Regions from separate parts of the Homo sapiens genome. Here all the other regions are linked to region 2. Evidence: promoter capture Hi-C in 16 types of primary human blood cells and fetal thymus (Javierre and others, 2016). All regions are on one chromosome and are shown on one strand. Each heading gives the region's core, a stretch centred on a gene start or on the middle of the fragment in contact. The rest is flanking DNA. Distances are from core to core; before and after follow the strand shown. Region 1 overlaps FAF1 (Fas associated factor 1). Region 2 holds the start of LINC01562 (long intergenic non-protein coding RNA 1562). Region 3 overlaps FAF1 (Fas associated factor 1).

Region 1 (2,700 bases), core at 88-2,587, 540 kb before region 2:
TTATTGTACCTACAAGAAAGAAATCTAGTACCTTTACCTTTATTTTAAATGGTCTGCTGCAAAAAATTTTTTGCAGTGAGTTTTTCTTAATCTTTCATATTTTTTCTTGAAATGTTTTTCTCCCCAAGGATATCAATTCATTAATGCCTCATTACTTACAAATTTCATTGTATATTTTGCTGGTGGAAGGTTTGGGAATTCTCCTTATATCCCTCCTCACCCTATAACTTACATTTCAATGAGCACTCCCAAAGTATGAGTACATTAATATGAATCAAATTTTATTTTAAATATATAAAAGGCATGCTACCTTCTTAAATGAAGTCTTTAAGAAATAAAAAAGATTTTTGGGGTTGCTTGTGCATTTCTGTGTTTTATTTTCTAAAAATGTAATTAAAACTTATTGACATAAAAAGCTTATTGATGCAATATGCCTTTTAAAATATAAATTCTAGACATTAATTTGAAGAGACGATACAAACTTTAAGAAGACTATGAAACATTTACAATTATCATGATGAACTATTGGTATGATTTTGTTGTATTCTTTGATAATAGCTATAATTAAAATTAAAATGAACATGGTGGCGGTAATATATGCCATCAAACAAAAGTAAACAATGCCACTAAAATATATCACAAGAATTAAATTTAGAACTACAAAAACATAAAAAGCAGGTGATGTATATTCCTAAATTTGATTCCTTGTATCCTAACCCACATAGTTTACAATAAGAACTAATTATTTCACAGTCTTAGTATTCCAAATTACAGTACTATACATGAACAGCTTTAAGGATAAGGAATAACTATAAATTTGTACAAACTGGACAGGTTTTTTTAATCTCATAACTTTGGTTAATAATCAGAATTATGACAACAGAACTGTGTGAAAATATTGTTTGAAAGCATATTCCAAAGTAAGATTATTAATTATACAACTGCAATTCACACTTAATGTACTTTATTACATTACATATTTTTATAGGACCATCTAGAGATTTGCAAAAAATGGTTGGCTCAAATAAATGGTTCTCTTTTAAGTGCATTTTATCCCTTTAGGTTCACACAATAACAGCAATATATTTTTAAAGTATATATTTTACTCAAAAAATACATAAGTAAGTCAGAAACCAAAAGCTAACAGATGTGTGACTTCTAATTAGTTATAATAATCTCTGCTTCAATGCCATTAGAATGAGCCTTCCTTTTCTTTTGAAAACTAAAAAAGCTTTCCTTTGAATTTTAAACTGTCAGGGTGCTTCAAAGTCAATGTACAAAATCTGCTTTGATTAAAATTTTAGACATCTACAGTGATAACTTTATGAAAGGAAAATATTAAATTATAATTATCCTAAACAGACACAGTCTTGTGAAACTAACCCTACATTCATGTTAAAACACAAAGAGTTGAATATAATGAATTTGATTCATCCTCGGACACAAAGCTTCACCACAGTAAACTCAGTCAACTGTTGCTCTTGCGCCTATATTCATGGTGCTTAAATAGCGCACTTTAAAACAAAAAAAACTCCAATTGGCTTTTCATACATCCACCCTCCCCAAAAATAACGCACTTGAAAAACTCAAATGATATGAAAGGCTTCAAGGCCTCTTTTCTCCCTTTCATACCCCCCTTTTTTTTTTTATTTCTGTTTGCAGTAATCTGCCTTTCTCTTTCTCATTGCTACAGAGCAAGCGAGGAGGCTCAGAGCTTTGAAAAGGGGGCTGTGTGTAATGGGTCCACTAGAATTAATTTACTTGCACCAAATCCATTGAGCACAGAGGTTCTTTTCCCCCCTCTCTCTCTCTCTTCTCAAATCATTTGGAGTCGAACGCAGCCCCCGGCCTTTGTAATTCTAGTAAAGCACTTAAAGTGCACAGTAGGTGTTCATGAGGACCATCTGGTCAAAAGCAAAACAAGCTGCTGATTTTGCCTTTGAATAGAATGAAGCAAGTGTGAATTAGTCTCTTCAATTAGCACTATTACAACCTGTCAAGTGCATATTGTAAAACAGGATTATTACAGTATTGGTCACCAGTGCAATTATTTACTCTCTGCCTTTTCTTGCATATAAAAAAATCTTATGTTTATTAGTTTCTGATAACTGAACGGAATTTCTCTTAACCCAGGCATTTCAAAACTACCAACACATAAATCACAGATGATGAAATGTGGTCAGCTATCATGTTTGATACACATATCTTAAGTAACAAAAGGCTAAAGACTGTTCTTAATTCTTAAAATGTCATTGCTTCTATCGTCTTGAAATGCAGGTAGACAAATACTTATATGGGCCAAAAAAGATATCCAATCCAGATTATTCTAAAATAGTTCCAGAGAGGGGAAAAGACTTGTCAGTTCCAAAGAGCTGCATTATAAATATTAAATTTATTACTTCAGGGGATAATTTGTTAAGAATCACAGGAAACCTCAATATTTATAAAATGATCCCTACTGATTTATATTCATTTGAAGTGGTATGATTTCAACAGATCTCAGTTTTCAAATGCAACTTGAAACTAATAATATATATGCATATTTAAAAGATGCATAATCGTCTTTTCTGAAAGCTGAATAAAGGCTTGAATTCACTGCCCAGTTGCAGAAGAAATTATCTCTTTCATTCTTGCTAAAATGTCATTCGTGATTTCAAATTTTAAAAAATCAAACTATAATATATGTTAATTAAATTGGTT
Region 2 (2,700 bases), core at 169-2,668:
AAAACTCTGTCTCAAAAAATAAAAATTAAAAAAAATTAAAACTAACTAAATAAATCTATGTCTGGCCAGGCATACAGTGGCTCACACCTGTAATTCCAGCACTTTGGGAGGCTGAGGCGGGAGGATCGCTTGCGCCCAGGAGTTTGAGACCAGCCTGGGCAACATGGCAAGACTTCGTCTCTACCAAAAACAAAAACAAATGCAAGGCATGGTGGTGTGCATCTGTAGTTCTAGTTACTGGAGAGGCCTGAAGCAGGAGGATCACCTGAGCCCAGGAGGTTGAAGCTGCAGTGAGCCTCGATCAAGCCAGCCTGGGTGACAGAGTGAGACCCTGTCTCCAAAACAAACAAACAATGTCTACAAATTCTAGCACTGTGTAAATATTATGTCAAATAATTGTATAAATTATTATTAATAAAAATTTCTTTAGGTTTGACAATAATTTGTGGGGTAAATTTTCTCACTTTGTAAAAATTCCAGGGTACCTCTGATTTCTGGTAAATTTAGCCAATCATAAATTAAATGAGTTCTTGGAAGCTCAACAATTCCAAAACCAAAATTGTGAGTCAGTTTGTTCTTTCTTTCCTTCTTTCCTTTCTTTTTCTTTTTCTTTCTTTCTTTCTTTCTTTCTTTTCTTTCTTTCTTTCTTTTCTTTCTCTTTTCTCTTTCTCTTTCTCTCCCTTCCTTCTTTCCTTCCTTCCTGCCTCCCTTCTCTCTCTCTCTCTTTCTCCTTCCTTTTTTTTTTGAGACTGAGTCTTACTCACTCCCTCGCCCACGCTAGAGTGCAGTGGCACAATCTGGGCTCACTGCGCTGCAACTTCCACCTCCCAGGTTCAAGCGGTTTTCCTGCCTCACCCTCCCGAGTAGCTGGGACTACAGGCGTGCACCAGCACACCTGGCTAGTTTTTGTATTTTTAGTAGAGATGGGGTTTCACCATGTTGGCCAGGCTACTCTCGAATCCCTGACCTCAAGTGATCCACCCGCCTTGACCTCCCAAATTGCTGGGATTACAGACGTAAGCCACCACGCCTGGCCCAAAATTATGAGTCTTTTCAAAAATTTTATATCAAAAAGGTGATATTTAATGTGGAATTTGAGTGCATTTAAATAAGATAGTGACTTCGTAGAATAGGGACTGCAGAGTAAGAGTGTTCAGACCCATTCGAGTTTAATATAGCCCTACCTCTAAGAATCCTTTCTGTTCCTCACTCAAATGAACTAATTGCTGTCTTTCAGTTCCTCTAAAAACCTTGGGGTCCGTGGCAGGGTGTGGGCTTAGGACTCACCTGATTACTTGTCTTCCCAGGTGGTCTCTGGGCTCTATCAGGAACAAGCCAGGTATGATCATCCTTTTCCCCAGTCCTTAGCGTGGGGTCTGGTATACACACGCACACACAACTTCAGTAAATGGTGAATGAAACGAAAGGCAGTCAAGATCCACCTGTTGAATGAACGTCTATCAGGAGCACTGTCATCCTTCTTGCTTCCTTCTTTTGCATATGTTGTTTGAGCTGCTCATTCAACCAAGGAGAGAGCATACTCTACCTTGGGCAGTGTGCCAGCCTTGCACAGAGGGACAGATGATTCAGCTTGATCAGGCTGTGACAGAGAAAAGCTCAGGGTCTGAGAGCACACAGGATGCGACTAACCCAGACTGGAGGGTCAGGAGAGTCTCCCCAGGGGAAATGAAGTTGCATCCAGAAGGATTCCTGAGAATAATGATTAGCCTGATGAGAAGCAGAAAGGTTGGGAGTGGAGGGAAGTGGGTTTCTGTGAGAGAAACAATATGGACAAAGGCCCCAGGCAGAGGCAATAGTATTCCAGATAACGAAAAGCATTTTAGAGAGTCTAGTTTAGAATTTGTGAAGGAGGTGACAATGCTGCTAATGAGATTGAAAGGGAGTCAGATTTGTAAACCATTTAAGGATTGTCTTAAGGACAGCCTTGAGGAGACACTGAAGGTTTTAACAGGAGAATGACATGATCCGATTTAAATTTTAAAAAGATAACTCTGTCAACTGTGCCAACAGTGAATTGGATGTGGGCAATGATGAACTCAGGAACAGCTGAGAGTCTATTGCAGAAGCCAAGGTGAGAGATGATGGTGGCTTGGACTTTGGTGCTGGGACTGGAAAGAAATGAACAATCTGATATACAACTGGAAGAATAATCTCTCTGGCTGTGATGTGGAAGGATAAGGACGTGATTGGACAGGCAGGGATGGTTCAGTAACGAGCTAGGACTTTATTGTGAAGGGATAAAGGGGAAGCTTTTAACATTTTAATCATGGGACTGATCCATTCCGATATGGGTTTATATAAATAGACCGCTTGGCGGAGGGTGGTGAGAAGACTGTCAGGCAGTGCACAGGTAAGAACTGAGCCCTAGACGGGGCAGGAGCAATGAATGTGGGGAGGCGCGGGAGACGGGAGATTGGTTTCGGAGCCAGGTACGGAGCCAAGCAGTCAGAGAGAAGCAAAAATTGACGCAGCACCGAGAACAGCTGCTAGTGGAGAGGGGGATGGGCGCCGCCGGAGCCGCCCTCGCCTCCTGGCGCCGGGGGCGGGACCAGAGCACGCACGGCGCGATGACGCAGTGCCCGAGCCGGCCTCGTTCTGGCTGCCGCCGTCTCGCTGAGGCGGAGTAGGATGAGGCCCGCGGCCGTGGCTCCGGCGTCGGCGGGGGCAGCAGCAGCTGAG
Region 3 (2,700 bases), core at 138-2,637, 510 kb before region 2:
TCATGATGATTTCAAAGTTCAGGTGGCCTCAGGTCTATAATTACTGTTTAATCAATATAGTGATATATTGGATACATCAAAATGTATTAACCAAAGTATGTAAAATTAATCAAAATGTGGTAATTAGTGATGATAGTGATATATTGTGATGCATCAAGTAGTACATGGCAAAACTGTCAAAACACAATTCTAACCATCTAGACAAAATTTGAAAAAAGCAAAGAAATATTTATAGACATATCAATTTTTGTTTCCTAGAGTAGTGACCAAGTTTCTGACTATCCATTAAATCAACCGTAGAGAATACCCGCAGTTCTTTTTCAAAATGTGATGCTAACAAGCTAATCTCAGTAGTCACTGAACTATCAATAGGCAATAAACTGTATAAATGGGTTTGGTACCTCACTCCAATTAGATGTGTTGTGATTTCCATCAGTGCTTTAATTGAGGACAAGTTTCTTCTTTCATCCAGAGTGCATAACTTTTGGGAAATGTCCTCTTCTTAAAATTAAACACACTTTTTTTTTTTTTTTCTTTGAGAAGGAGTCTTGTTCTGCCACCTAGGCTGGAGTGCAGTGGTGCAATCTTGACTCACTGCAATCTCCACCTCCTGAGTTGAAGCAATTGTCTTACCTCAGCCTCCCAAGTAGTTGGGATTACAGGCATGCACCACCACACCCAGCTAATTTTTGTATTTTTAGTAGAGACGGGGGTTTGCCATGTTGGCCAGGCTAGTCTCAAACTCCTGACAGGTGATCCGCGTGCCTTGGCCTCCCAAAAAATGAGCCACTTTTAAGTGGCCCCTTATTAAAAAACATTTACCAGCCCAGTACTTTCAAATTTCACTTTTAAAAATCTAACAATGATGCTCACTACAATTAAATTTAAGTTGAACAGTAATCACAATGTACTTGAAATACTGATTATATCAATTTATTCTTGAGAAATGAAATTACTTTAAGAATAATATATCAAATCATGCATTGTTCTAATTACAATACTGATAACTTAAAATACTTTTACGGATAAATATTGACGGAGTTCAGGAAATGCCAACCCCACAATATGACACTTTGGTATGCTGCTTACTTTGAACTGAGGGCACTTGGGGAACAGCTGACACAAACACAGGCTTTCTATGAGCTCTCCTTATCTGCCTAAAGACAGATCCTCCAAAAGGAACTCAACTGTCCTGAACCCCCACCCTAGGAATCTTATCAACCAGGGAAAATTAACTCATGTTACAGAAAAGGAGACTGAAGGCTGAAACCATACCCAGACAGATGATCACCTCTTCTTCTGAGAGCTACTCTGAGACCATTTTTACTACCTGAGAGACCTTTTATTTGTATAATAAGACAACCTTTATTCACCATACATTTCCTCTCCTTACCCTCTCATAACTTGTATCATACCATCCACCAGAAGCCCCACGCTCCTATTCCTTTCTGTAGCTCAGGATGCCATATAAGTTTCAATCATTTGATCATTCTTCGAGTCTCATATTTTGTGGGGCTTCTATGTGTACATATATAATTAAGTATGTTTTCCTCTTGTTAATCTGTTTTATGTAAATGCAATTTGTACCCAGCCAAGACCCCAGAGGGTGGAGGGAAAACATTTATTGCTTCCCTACAATATCATTCATGAAAATAACAAAAAGTTGTTTCGTAAAGCACTTTGGGAAATTTTTTTTTTTTCTTTTGAGAGGAGTCTCACTCTTATCACCACGCTGGAGATAAGTCTCACCACCAGGCTGGAGATAAGTGAGACGAGTCTCACTCTTATCACCAGCGATCTCTGCTCGCTGCAACCTCCGCCTCCCAGGTTCAAGCAATTCTCCTGCCTCAGCCTCCAGAGTAGCTGGGACTACAGGCACGCACCACTACGCCCAGCTAATTTTTGTATTTTTAGTAGAGACGGGGTTTCACCATATTGGCCAGGATGATCTCGATCTCACGACCTCAGGATCCGCCTGCGTCGGCCTCCCAAAGTGCTGGAATTACAGGTGTGAGCCACCGTGCCCGGCCGGAAAAAAAAATTACAACTGAATCATTCAGACATTTACTTACATATATAAAGTTTTCAAAAAACTTATTTACAGGCCACTTTAAGGTCTCATTTTCTTTTTATTAAATCATTTTTTGTTTGTTGGTTTTGGAGACAGGGTCTCACTCTGTCACCCACGCTGGAGTCAGTGGTACAATCTCAGCTCATAACAACATCAACCTCCTGGCCTCAAGCAATCCTTCCATCTCAGCCTCCCAAGTAGCTAGGACTACAGGCACGTGCCACTATGCCTGGCTGATTTTTTACTTTTTTGTAGAGATGAGGTTCCACTATGTTGCCCAGCCTGGTCTCAAACACCTGGGTTCAAGCAATCCTTCCACCTTAGCCTCCCAAAGTGTTGAGATTACAGTAGGAAGCCACTGTGCCTGGCCAGGTCTCCTTTTCTGCTGCACTGCTAAAACCTCACAAATACTGATCACTAAAAAAGCCAGCATGAAGAAGTCACACTCACAGAAAAATCATTTCAAAAGAAATTGTAGCAAATTATTTGGAGATATTAAAAAGTTAAAAACCTACTGTTTTTTTCTACTTTGAAAACAAAAATACTTAGCCACAGGAGTCCCCCACTGGCAATTGCTCATCTATTCCTGAAAGAGCATCATCGCTTCATCCATTCACTTAAACAACTTA

The links. The method cuts DNA at HindIII sites, captures the fragments that hold promoters and counts their contacts. A CHiCAGO score of 5 or more calls a contact.
Region 1: a fragment that was not itself captured here is called in contact with the fragment with the promoter of LINC01562 in region 2 in 2 of 17 cell types (total CD8 T cells and erythroblasts); the score reaches 5.4 in total CD8 T cells.
Region 3: a contact is called between a fragment that was not itself captured here and the fragment with the promoter of LINC01562 in region 2, in 1 of 17 cell types (total B cells). The highest score is 5.8, in total B cells.

What each region holds. Positions count from the first base shown.
Region 1 is chr1:50,698,515-50,701,214 of GRCh38, forward strand. The region is part of intron 7 of FAF1 (Fas associated factor 1); the gene reads right to left. Among named protein-coding and RNA genes, the nearest start is that of FAF1-AS1, 260 kb to the left of the region's middle. RefSeq lists enhancers at 1,009-2,600, 1,066-1,731, 1,732-2,396. The HindIII fragment of the contact is 217 bases long and covers 1,230-1,446 here.
Region 2 is chr1:51,233,678-51,236,377 of GRCh38, forward strand. It overlaps LINC01562 (long intergenic non-protein coding RNA 1562), which reads right to left and starts at 1,419. Exons shown (of 2, transcript NR_147076.1): 1 at 1,288-1,419. RNF11 (ring finger protein 11) reads left to right here and starts at 2,596. Exons shown (of 3, transcript NM_014372.5): 1 at 2,596-2,700. RefSeq lists a silencer at 2,381-2,700. The HindIII fragment of the contact is 11,293 bases long and covers 1-2,268 here.
Region 3 is chr1:50,719,483-50,722,182 of GRCh38, forward strand. All of the region lies in intron 6 of FAF1 (Fas associated factor 1), which reads right to left. Among named protein-coding and RNA genes, the nearest start is that of FAF1, 240 kb to the right of the region's middle. The HindIII fragment of the contact is 7,975 bases long and covers 1-2,700 here.